3 separate regions of the Homo sapiens genome follow, and regions 1 and 2 are each linked to region 3. Evidence: promoter capture Hi-C in 16 types of primary human blood cells and fetal thymus (Javierre and others, 2016). All regions are on one chromosome and are shown on one strand. The core of a region is centred on a gene start or on the middle of the fragment in contact, and the rest is flanking DNA. Distances in the headings are between cores, read along the strand shown.

Region 1 (3,521 bases), core at 229-2,728, 180 kb before region 3:
TTAACTTAAGATTAAATTTTCAGTGTTGATACTCTTGGGACAAAGAGTTCATAAAAGGAGGAAGCAGAAAGGCATTGGTAGAGTCAATATTGGATTCTAGAAGTAACTGGGATAAAAGGTAAGATGAAAATATACTCCAATTTTAGATCAGTTCCTCTCCCTGCCCACGCTGCCATACCCTGGCTCTGCTCCCAGGGCCCAGGCAAAAGCAATATTAAATCTTTACAAAAAATGGCTTACAGTTGGTAGAACCTTAGACTGAAAATCTTTTGGGAAAGTCTGGAATGCACTGTTGGTAGGAGCATGTAGAAAGCTTACCCAGGGTGAGAACAGTGGAGCAAAGCCAATTCCCCTCTTTCTAAAATCATAGCAAAGCAGAGAAAGCAGTGCTCCCATATGTATTACCTGGAGGATCCCCAAAACAGGAGGCTCTGGAACTAGCAATGCTTACTTACATCACCACCTCTCAAAAGACAGAATTCTAATATATCTGGCACAAAATCTAGACCAGGTTTCATAATTCCAAGTAGCAGAGTGGAAAAGTCTACAGGATATATGAATTATTGCCAGAAGGAAATTCATTAAATACTTTTAGAAAGCTGTGAACAACTCTGGAAATATTTAAAGACAGTGCTGTTGGCTCTGGCATTCTTAAATCTCAGGTAATAAGCTTGGCTTCTCAAGCAAACTTGAAAACTGCCCTGGTTAGCAACCAAGTAGGGAGCAGAGACAGAACGTCCCCTGTTTCAGGAGTCATACTGTTAGTGTCCAGAAATGTAAATTCTAACTAAATTCATCAGACTGTATCCCAAAGGAAAGGCTGTGATGGTGGAAATAAGAGTAGAGAGAATGAGCTACCAGTATTATTTCAAAAAAGAAAAAAAAAGCAGTTGATAAATTCTTCTCTTCGGTGGGGTTTTCGCTGCAGAAACAAATACATGGTTAGAGTATTCTGTAGAAAAAATTTGCAATTAATATTTACCGTCATTGAAGCTAAAATTCTTTTCTTGAAATCTCACAATTTTCTAATATGGTCAAGACTTCATTCAAAGCTTTCCCTTGATAATTATACCTATAAATGAACTATTATCAAGGAGAAAGGCACAGCCTTAAATTTGTCTCTTTATTCAGTAATTGAACTATGGCTCTACACCATCTGTCTTCCTACAGCTATCATCAAAAGTATGCATTCTCTCAGAAGCAATGGGTCTCAGCCAAGATGGCTGCCACATGAAAATGAGATAAGCAGGCACATTATCAATCCCAAAAACAACTCACAGGAACCGTTCAAAAACAAACCTCCTCAGGGGGCACCCTCCACCTCCCTTTTGACTGTCAGCATGTCTGTCACCTGCACACCCACTAATAAACAAATACAAAAAAAATGGTTCCACCTTACTCTCCACATCAGTTCTACCCTGCAGGGGTTAGCACATTCAGAAACAAGGCAGAGGAGGTAACTAAATCCTTTGAAGGACACAATCAGGTATTACGAAGTTTGAAAAAAGCCAAGGTAATAACCATTGCCCTCTCTCCTCCTTTTCAAAAGGGGTAACATTTTTTTCCTCAACTACACACAGGTTGGATTGAAAGGTGGCAGCTGCCTCACAAAGCAGTCCTTTGAAAATAATTACTACTCACTGCCTTTGCTATGTGCCTAGCTTTGCTAAGAGTACAGTTTTTTAAATGTATGGTGTAGATGATTTGCTGAAACTACACTAACTGCTACACAAGAATTAATAGGCTTTGTGTACATATTCTGACTTCTTTCCCTTCACCGTGGTATTTCCATTTTTCCTAAAGATCATTCTGAACAAAAACAAACTCCTCATGGAACTACTTGCCCAACAGATACATATCAGCTACTATTCACACTAACTCTTGATTATCTGCTAGATGGAAAACAAGCTTCCAAGGACTCAATCACAAAACCTGAATCTTGCAGTACTTTGCTGGTTAAGAATGCTTACAACAGCAAGTCCTTTCCTATAACACTGTCACTAAAAAGCCTCAAAGATACTGGATTGTGACAAACTGTTGAAAAGAATAACAATCGGTGGCCGGGCGCAGTGGCTCATGCCTGTAATCCCAGCACTTTGGAAGGCCGAGGCAGGTGGATCACGAGGTCAGGAAATCGAGAACTTCCTGGCTAACACAGTGAAACCCCATCTCTACTAAAAATACAAAAAATTAGCCGGGCGTGGTGGCAGGCACCTGTAATCCCAGCTACTCAGGAGGCTGAGGCAGGAGAATGGTGTGAACCTGGGAGGCAGAGCTTGCAGTGAGACGAGATCGGGCCACTACACTCCAGCCTGGGTGACAGAGCGAGACTCCGTCTCAAAAAAAAAAAAAAAAAAAAAAAAAGAAAGAAAAACAATCACAAGGTCAGGAGTTCGAGACCAGCCTGACCAACATGGCAGTCAAAAAATCAGCCAGCTGTGGTGGCGCATGCCTGTAATCCCAGCTACTTAGGAGGCTGAGACAGGAGAATCGCTTGAACCCAGGAGATGGAGGTTGCAGTGAGCCAAGATCACACCACTGCACTCTAGCCTGGAAGACACAGCAAGACTCCGTCTTAAAAAAAAAAAAAAAAAAAAAAAAAAAAGAATAACAGTACCCAGTACCAGAACATCTCCCTAGAAGAGGGCAATATTTATAGGCAGAAGAGTAGGGGAAAGTCCTTTTACTCTACCTACTTGAAACAGAATACTTATACTTCACAGGCTAAAGAAAATATGAAAACCACCCTCATTTAGTCTAGGTGAGAAAATAAATTCATTCCCCAAGGTAATGTTCATACATGTCCCTCATAACATTGAGTTGAAATTTGTTTTCAAACAAAATCCCCTATCAAGATCAACAGCCCTATTCCACAATTGCTCTCTTCTATCTTTTGGCCCCCACCCCAAAAATCTGTGGTTAAAGCTTTAGTTCCTAAAGCTGAGATTCCTGCATTTGAATCTCAACCCAGTCACTTCCTAACTGTGTCATCTTGGGTCAAATTCCTTAGTTTTTTCATGTGTAAAACAGGAATAATTTTAACAGTACCTACCCTACAGAGTTATTAAAGATATAAAGGAGAAAATATATGCAAAGTACTTAACATGAGCCTGGCATATAGTATTAAAAAGCTCAGTATATATTAGTTGCCATTATTTATGTTGTTGTTGTTATACTTCATTTTAGCTCGGCCACCACTTTTTCCAGGAAGGCTTCTCCCATGAAACCTTCACCCCAAGATGCCTCTCTTCTGTGCATCCTACATATACCTCTATCATAGCATTTCTCTCACCAGATCATATTTGTTTGTCTACCTCACACACTCTGCCCTCTTTAAGTGCTGGGGTTGTATATTGTATGTGTAGGCCCAGAAAGATGCTTAGCACATAGTAGACATTCAAGGAGCTTTCTTGTTAATTTTAAAAGTTCACCCAATATTTAAATAAATTTGTGGGATTTTTTCTATACTAACAAAATCAAGCAAAAGATGTCAGCTCCAATATGGAATATCTTGAGTTATA
Region 2 (3,225 bases), core at 338-2,837, 240 kb before region 3:
CAGTAGAGCCAAACATGTCTTTCACAAAAGAATGGTAGTAATCAACAGCTCAAGGCAGTCCCTCACCTCCAACTTCAAAAGCCACTAAACCCAATCACCTTAACTTGTCACCAGAGGAAGAAAGGAAAAAGCTTCTCTAGAGGAATGTGAAATGAATTGATAAGGAAACCTCGATTTGAGAGCAGAAATATAGAACAGACAGGGCATTTTGCTTCTGGAAAAGTACTTTTTGCATTAATATGCTATTTGGTATTAGGCCTAGAAATTAAGAATACTGTATTGGAGATGTGTGTACCTAAAATGGAAGGACCCCATCCTAAATAGGGAAGGACATTCTACTTGACTAACCTTTTAATGATAACATAAACCCAACTGGCTCAATTTCCATCAAAGTATGTACCACTCAAGTCCTAAATAGTGTTAAGAGAACCCATATGTGTTTGTAAGTCAAACTTTGGTATATTAACACATACTTCAAAGGTGAAAGTAATGTTCATATTACAAAAGTTTTCTTAAATAATGAATTAATCATCCATACTTTATATATTTTATAAACTTGAATTTTGTATATCACATTAGGCTTAGCTTTTTTTTCCCCCAGGGACAGGGTTCTCACTATGGGAAACGATGGTCCTTACAACGGTCCTGTGAGGATAGGATATAACCCGGGTATGCACAAATATTTATGGAATATGAGAGGTACTATATAATGTAGGGTTTGAGATCACAGGCTTTGATGTCACGCTTGGGTTCAAATCTCAGCTGAGCCACTCATTATCTGTGTGAATCTAAGTAAATGACTTCTCTTAATTTCCATTTCTTTCTCAATAAAATGGGGATAATAATTCCTACCTCATAAGATTACTTTAAGGGCAAAATGAGATAGTAGATAAGTTACCAGTTTAGTGCCTAGCATATAGCTGATGCTTATTAATATAGAACATATTTATTAGGTTGTATTTAAATCCATTTTAAGAGAAAGAAACTGAGACTCAGATTAATCTGTTTATTTTGGTCAAACAACCAGTAAATAGCAGATGTAGAACTTAGAAAGAAGTTATTCAAGATGACTGCTAATATAAATTTGTAACTTAAAAAAAATACATTTTTTCCTGACAGGAAGTCAGAGGAGGGAAAAAGATAAGGGCCAGGAGTGGTAGTGTATGCCAGTAGTTCCAGCTACTAGGAAGACTAAGGTGGGAGGATCTCCTGAGCCCAGGAGTTTGAGACCAGCCTGGACAACACAGCAAGACTCCATCTCTTTCAAAAACAAAAAACGGTTATCCAAATGTAAGGGGATGTTTACCTTTAGGTGGTTCTTGGAGAACATATGCATTTAATTGAACTTCATTCTTAGGCAGGGTTATCTGGACACTCTCTCCAGCAGATACCACCAGTTCCTTTATAACTGGAAACAAAGTAAATATACCAGAGATAAGAAATAGATCCAGACTGTCTTATTTCTCTCTTTCTTTTGTGATCAAACTCCTTTCATGATCAATATTCAGCTACTGCCATCAATTACTAACTTTTTTCTACTCTCTAATTGCTTGAAATTTGATTCTGTCCCCACTTTTCCATTGAAAAGGATCTTTCAAAACTACTTCTTAGTAAATCTAACAGCTGTACCCTAATACCCTCATTCTTCATCTCACATCTCAGTGGCTTCTACTATTGCTAACTGCCTCCATCTTAAAACTCTTGGATATCATGACACCATATTATTCTATTTTTCCTCCTTTCTCTCTTTTCCTCCACTGTATTTTTACTACAGTCTGTCCCTAAGCCCTCCCTATATACTACATTCCACAGAGTTCAAATCCTGTTTCAAGTATCACCTTTATGCTAACAAATAACTTTCTAATAAGATACATATATAAAGTTTCTAGAAGGGAAGGCAAATGGTTACAAATCTGCCTTACTTTCTTTCCATTCCAATTGCTACAAGATTCATTGTTCACACTAGATTATTCCAAGAATTTTTTTTTTCTTTTTGAGTCAGGGCCTCACTCTGTTGCTCAGGATAGAGTGCAGTTGTGTAATCATAGCTCACTGCAGCCTCAAATTCCTGGGCTCAAGCGATCTTCCCACCTCAACCTCCCAAGTAGCTGGGACTACAGGCATGCACCACCACGCCCAGCTTGCTTATCCCAAGAATCTTATTTTATCTTCCCTCTGCTAGCTCTCTCTACTCCAATCTATTCTGTCTTCCTAAAACAACCAACACCATTAGTCTTTCCAAAATACTCACCCACTATGTTACTCTTCTATTTAAGACTCCTGCTCCCATATCATATTTAAGGACAAACTTCCAACCTGCCATTAGAGAACCATCATCTGATCTCACTGTCTTATCCTTCCTATCTAATTTTGCCTCTAGTTACATTGATTTTCCCTCTTGTGTTCCACAAAGCCACGGTCTACTCTCAGGGACTTTGCTAAAGTTATTTCTTTCAACTGCGGTGTTTGCCTTGCTTTATTCTAAATACAGCATTTTGTTTCTAGCTTAAAGTCTGTCTCCTCTCCAAGAAATCTTCCCAGACCATTTCAGTTCAAACTGATCTAATCTTGAAGTATGCTAGCATTTTTGGAACACTCAAGTCAGCAAAGAGCTATATACTGTCTTTATACTATTCACCAGCTATTTCACATATGTCAGAGTTTCTCAAGCTCAGCACTCCTGATATTTTGGACCAGGTAATTCTTTGTCATGGAGGGAAATGTCCTGAGCACTGTAAGGTGTTTAACAGTATCACTGACCCATACTCACCAGACGTCAGTAGCATCACTCCCCTCCCCCAACTAAAAATGTTTGCAGACCACTGAAAGCCACCGATTATATAAATCTTATTTCTCTGACAATAAATGTTCATTTGCTATGAGACTTCAAAACTAGGAGAGCTTAAAGCAAACAATAGGCTAGTCCACTCATATTTCAAGCCTGGGAGGCGAGAAGGGCTTCCTAGACAAATATGAAACTTGAGATTTATCCGCCTCTGCATGGGAACATTGCACTTGAGGAGAAATGAAACCATCCTTAATGGAAGCTTCAGCATTTGGATGCCCCAGGAGATGGAATAAGAACTCTCTGAAGTGACTTTCAAAAAAAGAAAAGAAAGAAACATGATACTCAGAGAAAGTATAATGAACCAAAAAATGGCTATTCAAAACAGTTCAACCCAAACCCTTCACAATTACACCAAAAATTACAGGCATCTTGACTGG
Region 3 (3,349 bases), core at 803-3,302:
ACTAAAAATACAAAAATTAGCCAGGCATGGTGACAGGCACCTGTAATCCCAGCTATTTGGGAGGCTGAGGCAGGGGAATCACTTGAACCCAGGAGGCAGAGGTTTCAGTGAGCCGAGATTGCGCCACTGCACTCCAGCCTGGGTGACAGAGTGACATCATCCCCCTCCACCACCGCCCCCCGCCAAAATTCTACATAACCAAACAAGCTCTCCTTCAGTATCCTCAGCAAGATGGCTCTGTACTCCATCCAGAAAGCTGAGAGCATCCTGGGGTCCTCACTATCCTTCCTTCTCCCATCTCATTAATAACCACATTCTGACCATTCTTCCTCTTCCAGGCCATTTCTGACCTGGATTATTGCCTCGGCCTTTTCACTGATCTCTCTGCCTCCAGTTAAAAATGTAAATTTCACTTGTCACCACTCCTAATGCCCTCCCTGAATTCCTGCTAAACCTCTACCTGGCCTACAACACCCTGTTTGATCTGGCCCCTGCTCACCCCTCCATACCTGCCTCTTGCCACTCTGCCCCTCCCATCATAGCAAACTGCCCAGAGATCTCAAAACACACCATTGTTTTTCTTACAGTATTCCTTTGGCCTACAATATCCTTCCTCTCCCCTCCCCTCAAAGCTCCTCCCTTCTCCACCCAGCAAATTCCTTTTTGTACTTCAAAATTAGCTGTAATATCCCCATGTTTCCATGTCCCCATGTCTCTGAAGCCGTCTTGATACTGCCCCAATCAATATTACATAAACAAGCACGGTTAGTTATGCCTTCCTCTGGGTCCCCACTGCGCTGGGTATACACTGTCTTATCCAACTTTGCATCCGTCCCTGGCATACATGGTCGACGATCAGTGAATGTCTATTCAACTGGCATTTTTGGTTTGTGGTAATGATCTTGTAATAGCAGTTTGTAATCTGGCTTGGACCTCCTGTATATATCCTCCATCATATTCCCCAGAGTCAGCCAGCATAGAGCCCTGAACCAGGCTGTCTGTGCATACAGGTACTTGCTAAGTGAGTGAATGGGAGAAGAGACTGCAGTGAATTTCCATGCTCAGGAATCCACTCTTGACTCCCCAGGGCTGGAAGAGCTGGGTTCTGGAAGAGCTGGGTTTGGTTCCCTTTCCTACCCCAGCCAGGGAGCCCCGCCTTCCCCAGTGACAAGCTTTTCTTCTGAGCCTGCCCCCTTCCCTCCCAATGCCTCTGGAACACAGCCACTATCTTGCGGTCCCCGTCCCTAGCTTGCTCCATTCTGAGGCCCTGGAGGGAGGGCATACCACACCACTCTTCTCTCCTCCATAACCTGCTTCTAACCAAAATTAGGATTTGAACTGACAAAGGGATTCTACTGACCAAACAGCACTGGGATTAGAACAATTGAAGAGCATGAAGAGGAAGGGTATTGTAAGTGGAGCCGGCACTGGAAGGCGCTCCATAGGTGGCATGGACCCTCCCCACCCCCAGCAATGGGCAGAGAAGTCCTGGGGAGAAGGGTGTAGGAACAGTTCGTTTCTAATCGCCCTCTAAGCAAGGCTTGTGGGAAGGTGCCTAGAGATCTCCCCTCGCCCCAATTTTTTATTTTTCCTATACTTGGATGGGGCCGTGAAGGAAGCTGGGATGGGGTGGGGGTGGCGCTAGGGATCACAGGGTTCTCAGAGATAGTAAAATGAGAACCCCGACACGCCAGGACTAGGTCTCCGCCCAAACAGGAGGCAGCCTCCTTTTCTGGCCTTGCGGGAGTGGGAGACCACCCCAGGAGACAGAGACCATCCTTCCCTAGTCTCCTCGAAGGAGGCCACTGTGACTCCCCGCTTCCCGCGGCTGAGCCCCAAGCCCCACCCCGCCTCGGGCCCCAGACTCGGACTCACGGCGTAGAGGCGCCCGCTCCGGCGCGTCTGGCTCTGGCTCCGCCCGGCCCTGGTGGTGTCTAGTCCCTGGGCTGGGGGTTCCTCGGCCTGGGCGTCTCCGCGGTCCAGGCGTGGGTGCGGGGCTCCCGGGCAGCGCGCCCAGCCCCAGTCCCGGACTGCGGAGTCAGGCGGCGTCTGCGCAGCAGGGCGGAGCGACCGGTCCCACGTGGGCCGGTTCGGTTTTCCGCGGAGCCCCGCGCCAGGCCCCTGCGCCGGAACCGCTTCGCCCCCGCGCGGGGCCGCGTTGACCCAGGCCTTCCAGGTCCGGTGCTCTCTCCTATTGGCATTCGCTGGGCCCTTCCCATCAGTTAGCCTCGCTGCAGACACCGTGCCATTTTCAAGTGAAATCTGATTAGTCACCACCTTCCGGCGTTAAACTCCTCAATGGCTTCCCCACCGCCGGGACAACCCCTAAGGCGGTAGCCGCGGGGCTCTGTGCGTCCTGCCCTTCGTCTGCCTCTCCGGCTTCGTCCTCTACCCTCCCTCTCCGCAGTTACCCTCCCACACGCCCCTTTCCGCCACGCGGCTTTGGCACGCACTGTTCCCTCGGTCTAGCATTCTCTTCCCCCTCTCGACTTACTCCTATTTCAGATCTCTTCTCGGAGAGATCTCTGACTCCCTAGATCACGTTCGTTCCCCCCTTTATGTCAGAGCACATTCCTTTTCTTCATAGCATTTATCACAATTTGGAATTATATATTCCTTTTTGTGCTTACTTGACTAAAGTCACTGAGGCCGGGTGCGGTGGCTCACGCCTGTAACCCCAGCACTTTGGGAGGCCGAGGCGGGCAGATAACCTGAGGTCAGGAGTTTGAGACCAGCCTGGCCAACATGGTGAAACCCCATCTCTACTAAAAATACAAAAATTAGCCGGGCTTGGTGGCGGGCGCCTGTAATCCCAGCTACTTGGGAGGCTGAGGCAGGAGAATCGCTTGAACCTGGGAGGTGGAGGTTGCAGTGAGCCAAGACTGCACCACTGCACTCCAGTCTGGGCAACAGAGTGGGACTCCGTCTCAAAAAAAAAAAAAAAAAAAAAAAAAAAAAGAGAGAGAGAGAAAGAAGATCCAAGCCTGGGACAGGGCTCAGGGCTGATGTCCTGTACCCGGGACGGGGGCTCTCCGCAGGACACAGAGCCCACCCATGATGCCTGTGAAGTGGGTACCAGTGCTTTTGCCCAGGTGAGGAGGAACAGCGTGATAAAAAAGGGTCTTGGGTTCCAAACTCCAGTGGATTCTTCTCAGAGCTCCACTCTACTGAAGCTTGACCCCCCTCACTCTTTTGCACCCTGGGGAAATGTGAAGTTGGGGGCCCTGTTTGGAATAAAAGAGAACAGAGTTCAGTAATTGCTGACCCTAATATATGAGGTGCCCTCTTCCAGTTTCAATTTGATTCCAAGTCACCATTCTGCAACCTAGAGACTAATTGGCAAATTAAA

The links. The method cuts DNA at HindIII sites, captures the fragments that hold promoters and counts their contacts. A CHiCAGO score of 5 or more calls a contact.
Region 1: a fragment that was not itself captured here is called in contact with the fragment with the promoter of C1orf216 in region 3 in 2 of 17 cell types (total CD8 T cells and total B cells); the score reaches 5.3 in total CD8 T cells.
Region 2: a fragment that was not itself captured here is called in contact with the fragment with the promoter of C1orf216 in region 3 in 4 of 17 cell types (total CD8 T cells, naive CD8 T cells, endothelial precursors and 1 more); the score reaches 5.8 in total CD8 T cells.

The regions. Positions count from the first base shown.
Region 1 is chr1:35,532,520-35,536,040 of GRCh38, forward strand. All of the region lies in intron 2 of KIAA0319L (KIAA0319 like), which reads right to left. Among named protein-coding and RNA genes, the nearest start is that of KIAA0319L, 23 kb to the right of the region's middle. The HindIII fragment of the contact is 856 bases long and covers 1,051-1,906 here.
Region 2 is chr1:35,473,499-35,476,723 of GRCh38, forward strand. It overlaps KIAA0319L (KIAA0319 like), which reads right to left. Exons shown (of 21, transcript NM_024874.5): 5 at 1,307-1,408. Among named protein-coding and RNA genes, the nearest start is that of KIAA0319L, 82 kb to the right of the region's middle. The HindIII fragment of the contact is 2,916 bases long and covers 130-3,045 here.
Region 3 is chr1:35,716,832-35,720,180 of GRCh38, forward strand. C1orf216 (chromosome 1 open reading frame 216) reads right to left here and starts at 2,053. Exons shown (of 2, transcript NM_152374.2): 1 at 1,876-2,053. RefSeq lists a silencer at 1,785-2,214. The HindIII fragment of the contact is 2,001 bases long and covers 1,171-3,171 here.